Linked DNA regions of Homo sapiens: region 1 is linked to region 2. The links are contacts of gene promoters, found by promoter capture Hi-C in human tissues and cell types (Jung and others, 2019). All regions are on one chromosome and are shown on one strand. Each heading gives the region's core, a stretch centred on a gene start or on the middle of the fragment in contact. The rest is flanking DNA. Distances are from core to core; before and after follow the strand shown.

Region 1 (6,746 bases), core at 3,036-5,535, 1.3 Mb after region 2:
CTCTATGCCCTGTGGGGGCTCTTCTAGCTTTGGCAGCAGCAGCGGCAGCACCTACCGAGCCCCACGCCCATGTGGCAGGCACTGATGGAAGCCCATTACAGCCACCACACTGCCTGTCGTACACCTGGGGAAACTGAGACTCTAAGAGGACAAACCAAGGGCGGAGTTAGGCTGGGTGAGGCTTGACGCTCATAAAATGCGGGGTCCTGTTTAAGAGAAAGAAGACAAAACCAGGAACAGAGCGGTGGCTCACGCCTATAATCCCAGCACTGTGGGAGGCTGAGGCGGGTGGATTACCTGAGGTCAGGAGTTTGAGACGAGCCTGACCAACATAGAGAAACCCCATCTCTATTACAAATACAAAATTAGCCAGGCGTGATGGTGCATGCGTGTAATCCCAGCTGCTAGGGAGGCTGAGGCAGGAGAATCGCTTGAACCCGGGAGGTGGAGGTTGTGGTGAGCCGAGATCGTGCCATTGCACTCCAGCCTGGGCAACAAGAGCGAAACTCCGTCTCAAAATAAATAAATAAATAAGAGAAAAGTGGAACAAGTCACCAACCCACTTCCGCCAGCAAAGGCTTGTGGTGCTTTCCACAGGTAGCTGGGCCATCCGTGCTCAGATAATGGATGTGATGGTCTTCAGCCTCATTGGTGTGCTCACCGGTGTCCCATTCTAGCTGCCTGGGGCTCACCACACGCATAAAGGAAGGGCCCTGACTTCCTCTGGGGGCCCTGAGGGGGAGCAGCTTTCTGTAACCACATGGCTGCTCCAGCCCTCATGCATCTTAGAGACAGGACAGGAACTCCTGGGGACGATGAGGCAACACACAGGCATCCTCTTCTCAGCCCAAGGCTGGAAAGCTTAATTGGCAGGAAACCTGCACGCAGTGGAATGGCTGGGGCCTGCCGCTCCCCCGACTGATTCCTGCAGTCCTGGGGAGGGAGAGATGAGCCCGCACCTTGGAACGGGCCAGGCCTCAGTGGCCCTGACTGGCAACGTGGCTTTGGGCAAGTTGTTTATATCTGTCTGTCTATCTTCATCAGTAAACTAGAAATACTTCTTGAAGGGTTGTTCTGAAGATTTGAAGTAGTTGCTCAGAAAGTGACTGGCACATCTGTGCCCTGGGAGCGGGGACGTGTGGCCGGCAGGAGGAGAGGACATCTCACTGCACACCTGCCTGTTACCCATGTGCACAGACCAACGTCTCACTGCACACCGACCTGTTACCCATGTGCACAGACTGACATCTCACTGCACACCCGCCTGTTACCCACGTGCACCAGACTGACACCTCACTGCACATCCACCTGTTACCCACGTGTACAGACTGACGCCTCACTGCACACCCACTTGTTACCCACGTGCACCAGACTGACGCCTCACTGCACACCTGCCTGTTACCCACGCGCACCAGACTGACATCTCACTGCACACCCGCCTGTTACCCATGTGCACAGACTAACACCTCACTGTGCACCCACCTGTTACCCATGTGCACAGACTGACGTCTCACTGCACACCCGCCTGTTACCCATGTGCATAGACCAACACCTCACGGTGCACCCACCTGTTACCCATGTGCACAGACTGACGTCTCACTGTACATCCATCTGTTACCCATGTGCACAAGCAGCCTGCTCCTTCACAGCCCAGCTAGAGTGTGCAATGGGATGTCAACCCAGCTAGACCATGCAATGAGATATTACTTGGCAATCAGAAAGGACACAGCTCTAACTCACGCTGCGGTGTGGGTGAGCCTCAAAAGCACCGTACTAAGTGACAGACGCAAGACACAAATGTTCCACATGTTACATGACTCAGTTCCTATGAAACCCACAGAGACAGAAGCAGCACGGCGGGGGTGGGGAGAAGAGCTAAAAAGTACCAAGCTTCCTCCTTGAGGTGCTGAAAATGTTCTAAAATTGACTTGGGATGGCTGCACAACTGTGAATATACCCAAAACCATAGAATTGTACACTTCAATTTTTATTTACTTTTTCTGGTTTTTTTTTTTTTTTTTTTTTGAGATGGAGTTTCACTCTTGTTGCCCAGGCTGGAGTGCAATGGCATGATCTCAGCTCACTGCAACCTCTGCCTCCCAGGTTCAAGCGATTCTCCTGCCTCAGCCTCCCGAGTAGCTGGGATTACAGGCATGCACCACCACGCCTGGCCAATTTTGTATTTTTAGTAGAGACGCAGTTTCGCCATGTTGGTCAGGCTGGTCTCGAACTCCCGACTTCAGGTGATCCACCCGCCTTGGCCTCCCAAAGTGCTGGGATTACAGGCATGAGCCACTGTGCCCGGCCTATTTACTTATTTTAAGAAAGGATCTCACTCTGTCACCCAGGCTAGAGTGCACTGGTATGATCACAGCTCACTGCAGCCTCAACCTCCGGGGCTCAAGCCATCCTCCCACCTCAACCTCCCAACTACCTGGGACCACAGGCATGTACCACTGCACCTGGCTAGTTTTTGTGTTTTTTGTAGAGTCAGATTCTTGTTATGTTGCTTAGGCTGGTCTCAAACTCCTGGCCTCAAGCAGTCCTCCCACATCGGCCTCCCAAAGTGCTGGGATTACAGGCATGATCCATCGCGCCCAACCAGGTTGTACACTTTAGATGGGAGAGTTGCATGGTATGTGAATTCTATCACAATAATGCTGTGGGTTTTGTTGCTGTTGTTGTTGTTTGAGACCGAGTCTCTCTCTGTTGCCCAGACTGGAGTGCAATGGTGCAGTCTTGGCTCACTGCAACCTCTGCCTCCTGTGCTAAAGCAATTCTTGTGTCTCAGACTCCCGAGTAGCTGGGATGACAGGCACCTGCCACCATGCCTGGCTAATTTTTGTATTTTTAGTAGAGACGGGGTTTCGCCATGTTGGTCAGGCTGGTCTTGAACTCCTGACTTCAGGTGATCTGCCTGCCTTGGCCTCCCAAAGTGCTGCAATTACAGGCATGAGCCACTGTGCCCAGCCTATAATGCTGTTTTTTTTTTTTAATTAACTGGATAATTATAAACGTGAACACGTGTGCACAGAACTGATGCATGTGTCTGCCGGCGTGGACACTCCTGGGCTTCCTTCTGGTAGCTCAGCCGCCTCTCTTGACCCTGACCCTCACTGCTTGATGTTAGGAGACAAGCCCAAGGCATCTAGGTTGCTGGCTTCCACCTTGGAAGGCCAGGGCCCAGCAAAGTCAAGGTGATGTGATGTGGCTGAGCAGGGAGGCCATCTTCCTTCCAGACAGAGACTCTGTCACTTTGGACTGGACTCTTGTCCCACAGTGCTGGCCAGGGACAGGTGCAGAGTTGTGCTTGGTTGGCATGGGACGCTGATGAGGGCTGTGTTGCGGCCAGGCCCAACCACCATGAGCCGAGATCATGCCACGGCACTCCAGCCTGGAAGACAGAGTGAGACTCTGCCTCAAAAAAATAAAAAAAATAAAAAGTTATAAATAGAACTACCCTATGATTCAGCAATCACACACTTCTGGGTATATATCCAAAAGAGCTGGCTGGGCACAGTGGCTTATGCCTGTAATCCCAATATTTTGAGAGGCCAAGGCAGGAGGATCACTGGAGCCCAGGAGTTGGAGAACAGCTTGGGCAAGATGGCAAGACCCCCTGGCTACAAACAATTAATTTTAAACCCTGGTATGGTGTCCTAGCTACTTGGGAGACTGACGCGGGGGGATCACTTGAGCCCAGGAATTAGAGACTGCAGTGAGCTATGATGGCATCATTGCACTCCTGCCTAGTTGACAAAGTAAGACCCTGACTCTTTTTTTTTTGTTTTTTGGCTGTGAGTGTATTCAATGCAAAATAATCCTCTCTAATTTTACGGAGGTGGCTGGCCATGTCCACGACCAAATCTGCCTCTAAACTGGAATTCGGTTGCTGACCCAGCCCGAGCCTCAGCTTTCTTATCGGCACCAGGGGCACAGCACTCCGTCTGTAGGTATGTCTGTCGGCTTCCCCTCTTGTGAGTCTTGCAGGTCGCCCACCCTCCAGACCTTTAGGCCGAGGCCTGCCAGTCCCTGGACGGCTGCAGCGTAGGGTGGCAGGCACAGTTTCCAGGGACAGATGAAGGTAATCACGGAGATACTGGATACCCTGATCGGTAAGGTAGCAGTAGAAATGTCTCCAGGCAAGCCAGGCACGGTGGCTCATGCCTGTAATCCCAACATTTTGGGAGGCCGAGGTGGGCGGATCACGAGGTCAGGAGATCGAGACCATCCTGTCTAACATGGTGAAACCCCGTCTCTACTAAAAATACAAAAAATTTGCCGAGCGTGGTGGCGGGTGCCTATAGTCCCAGCTACTGGGGAGGCTGAGGCAGGATAATGGCATGAACCCAGGAGTTCAAGCTGGTCTTGAACTCCAGGAGGCGGAGCTTGCAGTGAGCCGAGATCACACCACTGCACGCCAGCCTGGGTGACACAGCGAGACTCTGTCTCAAAAAAAAAAAAAAAAAAGCAACAATGCAGGGACTCCTGACACATGCTCCAATGTGGATAAACCTGAAGGACATTATGCCCAGTGAAATAAGCCAGACACAAAAGACAAAAACCACAGGATCCCACCCACATCAGGTCCCCAGAGTCCTCAGATTCAGAGAGATGGAAGCAGAATGGTGGGTGCCAGGCCTGGGGGAGGAAGCTGGACATAGTGTTTAGTGGGGTCAGGACAGAATTTGAGTTTGGGATGATGGAAAAGTTCTGGAGACGGATGGTGGAGATGGTTGCACCACAATGTGACTGCATTTAACGCCATCAAATTTTACACTTCAAAATGGTTAAGATGGGCCGGGCATGGTGGCTCATGCCTCTCATCCCAGCGCTGTGGGAGGCTGAGGCAGGTGAATCACCTGAGATTGGGAGTTCAAAACCAGCCTGACCAACATGAAGAAACCCCGTCTCTACTAAAAATACAAAATTAGCAGATGTGGTGGCGGGTGCCTGTAATCCCAGCTACTCAGGAGGTTGAGGCAGGAGAATCACTTGAGCCTGGGAGGCGAAGGGTTGCAGTGAGCCAAGATCGCACCATTGCACCCCAGCCTGGGCAACAAGAGCAAAACTGCATCTCAAAAAAAAAAAAAGGTTAAGACGGTAAATTTTATGTTATGTATATTTTATCACAATAAAAAGTAATATTTTTTGCAGCCAAGGTATGCTAAAAGAAATGGCTTTTTAATTTTTTATTATTTATTTATTAATTATTATTATTATTTGAGACAGAGTCTCACTCTGTTGCCCAGGCTGGAGTGCAGTGGCGTGATCTCAGCTCACTGCAACCTCTGCCTCCTGGGCTCAAGCAATTCTCTTGCCTCAGCCTCCTGAGTAGCTGGGACTACAGGCGCCCACCACCACATCTGGATAATTTTTGTATTTTTAGTAGAGACAGGGTTTCATCATGTTGACCAGGCTGGTCTCGAACTCCTGACCTCAAGTGATCCACCCGCCTCGGCCTCCCAAAGTGCTGAGATTACAGGGGTGAGCTACTGCGCCCCAAGAAATGACTTCAAAAGGAAAAATGTAAGCACCAACATAAGCTGGTGTAATGTAATGTAATTCCCACCAATGTAAGTTGGCAGGAATCCTTGCTCTGTATAGAAGGCTCACATTTTCTTATCACTGCTTCCAAGTGTGACAGCAGTGGCCTCATGGCCTTATCTCGGGGAAAGCACTTCCTTCCAAGCACCATGAAGGCCTCCCGTGCTGAGACAAGATGGAAGCTCCTAGTCCCACCTGAGGACTGATACGGCCTGTGCTTCTCGGTCTCTCAGGACGCGCAGGCGGCCATGCGCCCCTTCGACCCCTCCGCTCTGCTGCCCACCTGCTGGGATTACTGGACCTATGTGGGCTCGCTCACCACCCCGCCGCTGACCGAGTCGGTCACCTGGATCATCCAGAAGGAGCCCGTTGAAGTGGCCCCAAGCCAAGTGAGCCGTGCCCGTAACTGGCATGATGGCGCTTCATGGAAGGCGTCTCTCTTGCTTGGCAGCGTCACTAAGATGCTGCATAAGAGCCTTGAGGAGTTATATATATTCTTTCATGCATTTGGGGTGTTCTTACACAAGAAGAAAGTTCCAATTGAAGTAGGAGCTTGTTGAGATTGGACAGCGGTTCCAGTGATCACAGCGAGCATGTTCTGAGCAACGCCCTAATCTATCACACACAGACACACAAGGCATCCATGGGAGTTGTCCCAGCGTCATGGGTCTGCATGGTTTTTGTTTTCTTCCTTTTTCTTTTCTTTCCTTTTTTTTTTTTTGAGACAGAGTCTCGCTCTGTCGCCCAGGCTGCAGTGCAGTGGCTCGATCTCAGCTCACTACTACCTCCACCTCCTGGGTTCAAGCAATTCTCCTGCCTCAGCCTCTCGAGTAGCTGGGATTACAGGCACCCATCACCACGCCTGGCTAATTTTTGTATTTTTAGTAGAGACGGGGTTTCACCATGTTGGCCAAGCTGGTCTTGAACTCAGGTGATCTGCCCACCTTGGCCTCCCAAAGTGCTGGGATTCCAGGCATGAGCCACCGAGCCCGGCCTCCTTTTTCTTATCTAAATAGTTTCATTGCTTTTTTTTTTTTTCGAAAATTAGTTAATAATCCTTGTATACATTTTTAAAAGTTATACTATTGGGCTGGGCGTCATGGCTCATGCCTATAATTTTAGCACTTTAGAAGGCTGAGACAGGCAGATCACTTGAGGCCAGGAGTTCGAGACCAGCCTGACCAACATGGTGAAACCCC
Region 2 (7,100 bases), core at 4,323-6,822:
TGCACCATCCCAAGAACATCATCGATGCTGAACAAATAAATAACCAGAGTTGTGAAGTGAAGTCTGAAATTTATAGAACAGGCTCATCTATCAAAATTTGGACACCAGAACACAGAGTCAATTATCACATATTAACTTGCTCTTGTTGGCATTTCAATGCATTTAGAAAAGATACACTTCCTCCACACACACATTCCCCTGCCATACCGAAACACCAGCAAAATTGAGAACACTTCAGACATATCTCAGCTTTCCCTGTGACTCTAAAAACTACTACACACAGCAAAGCTTATATCTGTTTATAAAAGATGACCCTGAAGAGTCTATTTCACATCCAAACTTCCTTAGAATGGAGAGCATCCTAAAGATAACCTTAGATTTGGAAAAACATTTTCATGTAGATAGTCTTACTTGATTTTTATAAGGTTGCAAAGCAGTTCAGGCATCATTGCCATTTCACAGGTGAGCAGACTGACACCCAGATATGTGAACTGACTTTCTGTTAACATGGAAGGAGGGAAGGAAAGAGAAAAGGAAGGGAGGAAGGGAGGAAGGAAGGAGGGAAGGAAGGAAGGAGGGAAGGAAGGAAGGAAGGAAGGAATGAAGGAAGGAAGGAAGGAAGGAAGGAAGGGAGGGAGGGAGGAAGGGAGGGAGGGAGGGAAGGAAGGAAGGAGGGAAGGAAGGAAGGAAGGAATGAAGGAAGGAAGGAAGGAAGGGAGGGAGGGAGGGAGGGAGGAAGGAAGGAGGGAAGGAAGGAAGGAGGGAAGGAAGGAAGGAAGGAAGGAAGGAAGGAAGGGAGGGAGGGAGGGAGGGAAGGAAGGAAGGAGGGAAGGAAGGAAGGAAGGAATGAAGGAAGGAAGGAAGGAAGGGAGGGAGGGAGGGAGGGAGGAAGGAAGGAGGGAAGGAAGGAAGGAAGGAAGGAAGGAAGGAAGGGAGGGAGGGAGGGAAGGAAGGAAGGAGGGAAGGAAGGAATGAAGGAAGGAAGGAAGGAAGGGAAGGAGGGAGGGAGGGAAGGAAGGAAGGAGGGAAGGAAGGAAGGCAGGCAAGGAGGGAGGGAGGAAGGAAGGAAGGAAGGAAAAGGAGAAGGGAAAGGGGAGAGAGGGAAGGAGGAAGGGAAGGGAAGGAATAAAGAGGAAAGTATGGAACTATCTTTATAGCAATTGATTAATTCCTCAGCCCGATTTAGTAACAGCAGCAGCATCAGAAACTAATATTTTTAATACTAACAGAACTAATAGTGATAACAGGAGTGTTGTAGTAATTAGTAGCAATAACAGTAGTAACATTACTGCCTTGTCTTTATATATCATAGAATTTTCCAGGGCAATTTCATGTACAGTTTTGCATTTATTCTTCACAACACGTTTCTAGGATAGTTACTACAGGTCCCATTCCATGATGAGGAAGCTGAGACTTGGGAGAATCACCTTTCTTCAAATCATACAGCACCTAGGTGACCACCTCTGGTCTTCTGACTGTGGTTCCCTGTCCTGGTTCCCTCATCAGCCTGGTGTTGCTTTGCCCACCTGTCCAAGCAGCTAGGAGATACCACCCTGCAGCTCTTACCTCGGGGAGGAAATGTGGGTGGGGGAGAACCCAGGCCAGACACATAGTTGAGGTAAGCATCAGAGATGGCATGGCAGAAAGACAGCAAATTGGAGAGAACCCACTGCAGAAGGCTGGGCTCTCTGGTAGTGGCCTGAACGGGAGTGGTTCCCAAGAAGGATCAGGCTAAGGACAAGAAGGTGCAGACTCTGTCTCCTGGTCTCTCCAAATGATGGTGTCTTTCTGGCTATATCACTCGGCCTTCAGCTTTATCTCCATTTACCCACAGAAAGAAGCCCCTCCTTTGGGTTAAGGGTAAAGCTTTTGATTTTTCCACTATCTGGATTTCAGCCTCCTGATCAGGAAGTTATCACCAGGGGCTTTGATGTGGGCAGATCATACTAAGATCCACACTGCCTGCAACTCTGCACCTCCCCCTTTGGAAAGCACAGTCCACTCCAATGGGTGCAAGGGTTCTTTGGCTATGTCTGCCCAGTGGACCCTGGCTTTATGATGGCAAGCTGTGAACTGACAAGGCAGTGGACAGAGAGCGGAACATCCTGTCACCCACCGTACCTAGCTCATGGGATTCAGGAAGAAAGTAAGAACATGGGTTTTAAAAGATTCCAGAAATCCCCATGATTTCTGCAGTTAATGTGTATGACTTGGTCATAATAAAAAGAAATGTACAAAAATGTTCTTTACATACAGAAAGATGTTCTGGAGGTTATGGAAACAGCATCTAAGTGGGGTAGTATTACCCTGCACAGAAATGGCAATCCACAAGCTAAACACTTGACTCTAGGGGTGTGGATTTGTAACTGAAAGAAGCACAAACCACACAGCCTTTTCCTGACACTGGAGCCTCCCAGCCTTCCTGGTCAAGCAATGGGGAGAGGGCAATTACGACCAGACCTCTAGGATAGTCTTTTAGAAATATAAAGTGGGGAAAGGTGGTAGAGGGGGAGAGAAGAGAGAAGCAGAGCTGTCAGCATGCTTGATGTTAAATAAAACCTACCAAGACTCAGCTGAGAATTTTAGCAGAATCCAAATGTGCTAAAAAAAAATAAATAAATAAAAAATAAGACATGGCTTCCCTCTCTAAGGTTCACAGCTAAGCTTGCTTAGAATCACACATGCCAAGGTTAAAAATAAAAAGCAGCCATCCCTGAATGACATGGGCTCCAGGATGGAAGCCTGAGGTATGCTGTTTAGTGGTGGAAGGAAGAGAGGGGAGGGAGGAGAGTCTGGGTTCAGGGCATAGGTATTTATTGGAGGGCACACTATCTGAAAGCCAGATGCTCAGAATTTTGCTGTTTTGCACTTAAAAGGCACTTCGCATTGGCAAAAGGTGTCATAATGATCTTCAGATTTTCCATCGAGGAAATGCTGGCCTGCATTCGAATGTGGTCATGGCTGACCCACTCTGGGCTCTGCTGTTCAATGTGTTTGCCTCCTCCATCCCGGGATCTGACTCAGACAGTGTCCACATGCACCTAGACGGGATGCCCATGAGTCACAGCTTGGAAAGCACAGTGGGCTATTGGCATTGGCATGAAGCCAGATCTGCCACTCTGTGCCACCCTACCCTATTAACCAGACATAATGGTGCTGGGGCCACCCACAGGCTAGCTAGCCCCTGGTTGGCTGCAATGGGGACAGACTATGTGTCTGCCTGCTAAGGATGATGCATGACCCACTCGTCCCCACAACTACAACCATTGCGAGCCAGGAGTAACCTGCAAAGGTGCTAAATCAGGCCTGCGGTCCCCCTACTTTTGGTAAATCCAGGGCCCTCTATTATAAGCCCAGTGGGGTCCTCTTTCTAACAAAGTTGTCCCTTGTCCAATATGCATATGACCTCTACTGCCTAAAGCTGTAGATAAAAACAGCAGATTTAGCCTCAGCTACTCTGTCAGCTACCATGTTACCCCTCCCCAACGTCATTACTATGCAGATGTTTCTAGAAAGTCTTCAAAGGGTCAGGTGAATTGTGAGAATTCTGTGACCTATGTGTTAACAGGGAGCCGGGACATTACACCACCCACATGTGGGCCAGTCCTACACTTCAGCACCATACAGGGCTAGGGAGGCAGAAAGGCATTGAGGCGTGGACGCTGCCACCTCACAGAAGCTTTGGTCTGTGCCTTGACTCCCCCAGTGGGGATAATTCTCCTCCCTGGCATGCATGGGAAGCATAGACAGTCTATGCATGACTGGCTGCCCCTAGCACCCTTGCTAGCCTTCACCCGCAGGGCCCACCTTCAAATTCCACATTTTGGCTGCTGGTTTAGAAGCATCACTTAAAGTGAAGTGCCTTTTTTACACCTTTAAGGCACTTCAGAAAAGCCTTGGAAGGTATACAGGGCAAGGGCTGTTTTCCTGCCCATTGGGATGGATGAGAAAATAGAGGCTGATAGAGTTTAAGAAACTTGCTCAAGCTTAAGTGACAGACCCAAGACTCGAATCCAGGGCTCTTTCCACTACTCAAAGACCACCTACCAGGGCCAGAGCTACTGGGGGTCTCAGCCCCAGTACAGCAGCAAATACCTGGGTTTGAGATTGAGACTCCCTAAGGCATCTTTCTTACTGGAGACCTCTGGCGATGCACTGTCATTTGGCCTGAACTCTGGGGACCTTTCCCAAACAGAGCCTTGCTGCAAGGGGTCTCTGAACTGCCTTATCTTTCTCAGGGTCCTTCAGGGGCTGGGTACCAGCAAAGACCTACAGAGGGTTAGGATGGTGCCGTGTTCAGGCAGCACAGGTCCTCGCCTGTCCCTTCCTTGGGCACCCTAAGGGCTGGTCACAGAGGGAGTTAGCCCTTTAGCTGGCACTTAGGTTTGACTGGAGATAATCCTTTTCCAACGACTCCAGTGACGAGGGAACGCCCTTTGCAGTTCCAGAAACTGCCCGTCTAGATTATCACTGGGAAGTTCTGGGTAAATTCTGCTATAGCCCCCCATGGCCCTGTGTGTCAGCCTGAACCCATACAATGAGTTGGGTTAAAAGAAAGAGAAAACACAAGAGACGGATGGCTCTCCCAATGGAAGCGATCAGAGACCCGGCGCACGGAGCGGAGCTCCTGGTCCTTACCTGTACCAATCCAGCCCGCGGCCGTAGTTCCTGTCAAAGAAGTGGGGTTCCGTGCCCAAGGCCCGCACGTCCGGGTGTACTCGGATAAACTCCAGCACGGCCCGGGTGCCCCCCTTCTTCACGCCCACAATGAGGGCTTGGGGCAACCGCTTGGTACCCAGCTTGGGTGAGCCGGAGTGGTTGGAACCGGAGAGGCGAGGGGCGGGCACGGCGGCGGCGGGCGCGCTGGGAGCGCTGGGCTCGCTGGGCGTCGGCCCGGAGGGATCACAGGGGCGGGACTTCTGGAGAAGTTTCTGGCCGCCCGCGCTGGGGCCGCGGAGGCAGCGAGGCGCGCCGAGGAGGCGGCTCCGACCCAGGTCGTCGCAGCAGCACAGGAAGCTGTAACACAGGTAAGTGCAGGAGAGCGAGAGCGTGAAGGCGAAGAGCAGCCTGCGCGCCCTCCGCGGCTGAGGTGGCCCCGCGCGGCCCAGGACCCTATAGGCCATGGCTCCATGGGCCCGCGCCGGGGGTCATGGTTTCCGAGGGGGCACCGGCGGCTGAGCTGCTGTGGCCCTGCGGTCGCCTAGAGGGCTCGCGTGGCGCTGCCACGGCCACGCGGGTCGGGCGTTGGGGGCGCCGTCTTCTCCGGGGGCTGCTGACCAGGGTGCGCACAGTGCCAGGGGGTCCCGGGGGCAGCGGCTCCTCGGGGAACAGGCGGTTGCATTTCCAGCATCTCCCGGTCCTAGGCGATGGGGCTCCGGGCAGCCGGGCGGCTCGGGCGCTCCCAGGCTCTTACGTGCGCCGGGTTCGGAGCGCGCCCAGCGCCCGAAGCCCCATTCCTGATCCTCGGAGCGCCGCTCACGAAACGCTCGGCGGCGGCGCGGCTGTGCGGGCTGGCGGGTGGACCGGACGGTGGCGCTGGCGCCGGCCGCGATCTGGCTCTTCGGGAAATGCCGAGCGGAGCGCGCTGCCGGCTCTATTTAAGGAGTGGCCTGACGTCAGCCGCGCGGGTCCCCCGAGCCCGCGCCGCGCCCAGGGACCTGGCCCGCCCCCTGCGCCCCCACTCTCTTACCCCTCCCAGAAACACAGCACGCGGGCCCTCCCCATGCAGGCCACTCCCTACGGAGCCCCAGGCCAGCTTTGGGGCGGTGAAACGAAGGTGTCAAGGCATAGTACTCCTCCGGGAGGCTGGACACCCCCACCACGCTGGCCTCTCGACATCCAGGGACACGAATCCAGGTCGAGATCGCGCCGACATGCAGACCAGACAGACCCAGACGCAGACGCAGGCACCCTGCCCTGATGCGCGGTCCCACCACCCTGACCCGCACACGCACGCACAGGCACAGAAGCACACGCGCCCTAGCCCGGACACACCCCCACACCCACGCGGGGGTGGGGAGGAGAAGTCCCCTAACCTGGGCCCAGATACACCGACAAGGACACTCCCCCCGCTCTCGACATCTCGCCAAATGGACACACACAGCCCGGAATCGGACACCGAGCGCACGCACGCCCTGGACTGGGACACGCGCTGTAGACGGGATGGGTGGAGGAGCCGAGCGTGAGTGAGATTCCGTGACTATTCACCCAGCTTCTTAGCCCCCAGCGCGCTGACTCACACCCCGGCGGCTCGCTCTGTCTCGCACCTATGAGGCACGCGCGCACCCCAACCCATTGTCACCCCACCTCTCCCCGGGCCTGCCGGAGAGCGAGCCCCGGAGCGGCAGACTCCGCGTCAGGAGGGTTCCTCTCTTAGCAGCCGCCGCCTAGCGGTAGACTGCTCCCCGGGGAGCTGTCCAGGGTACCAGAGGGTCGCCGAGGGCTGAGTGAGGAGGGCTTCTTCACACAGAGACACTAGGAGGAGGAAACAGAGTACAAGGAGAACGTATCCAGGAGCAATTCCACTTCGAATGATTCCTAAGTGAATGCCTACAGGACAGTTCTCGGTGACCATGTCCAGAACAGGCATAAGTGACGATCCCCAGTACTTCCCTGAGGGACCACACTGGTACCTTGGATCAGAACCCTGCATCAGAACAGGCCTAAATGGCCATGGCTAAGAACACGGCTGAGTTGTCCTTCAACAGCAATGCCAATGCCAATTCACCATGTCCGAGTGTTCACAAGGTGAGTGCCCTCCACCACCACCCAGCCATAGAATGTCTAGATGACCACCATGACCCCCACCCTGATCAGGGTATAACTGACTTCCTTCCTCAGGCTGTAAACTGATCATTAGGTTCTGTGGATCTTAGCCCAAACCAGAAAATATTTTGTCCCCAAACTAGTCCCATCCCTAGAAACCTTAAACCAATTCTACGGCAGATAATAATAATAGCTGCCAACTTTGTATCAAGCACCTGGCATGGGTTAACTGATTAAATATTCACAACCTATGAAGTTGTTACCATTACCCTGGCATCACTTTGCTGTCTTAATTCTAATAGTAGCTAGCATTTATTGAGTGCTTGTTTTATGGG

The links. Contacts are between HindIII fragments. The study calls those that stand out against the background at their distance.
Region 1: a fragment that was not itself captured here is called in contact with the fragment with the promoter of HS3ST2 in region 2 in 1 of the 25 tissues and cell types used here (heart right ventricle).

Annotation. Positions count from the first base shown.
Region 1 is chr16:21,535,888-21,542,633 of GRCh38, reverse strand. It overlaps the pseudogene LOC646828. Among named protein-coding and RNA genes, the nearest start is that of MIR3680-1, 33 kb to the right of the region's middle. RefSeq lists enhancers at 762-811, 884-1,622, 3,629-4,128, 4,129-4,630. The HindIII fragment of the contact is 5,817 bases long and covers 1,377-6,746 here.
Region 2 is chr16:22,812,634-22,819,733 of GRCh38, reverse strand. HS3ST2 (heparan sulfate-glucosamine 3-sulfotransferase 2) reads right to left here and starts at 5,572. Exons shown (of 2, transcript NM_006043.2): 1 at 4,639-5,572. The coding sequence starts at 5,123. It overlaps LOC107984851 (collagen alpha-1(XVI) chain), which reads left to right and starts at 4,875. Exons shown (of 4, transcript XR_001752349.2): 1 at 4,875-5,027; 2 at 6,470-6,747. The HindIII fragment of the contact is 6,010 bases long and covers 3,834-7,100 here.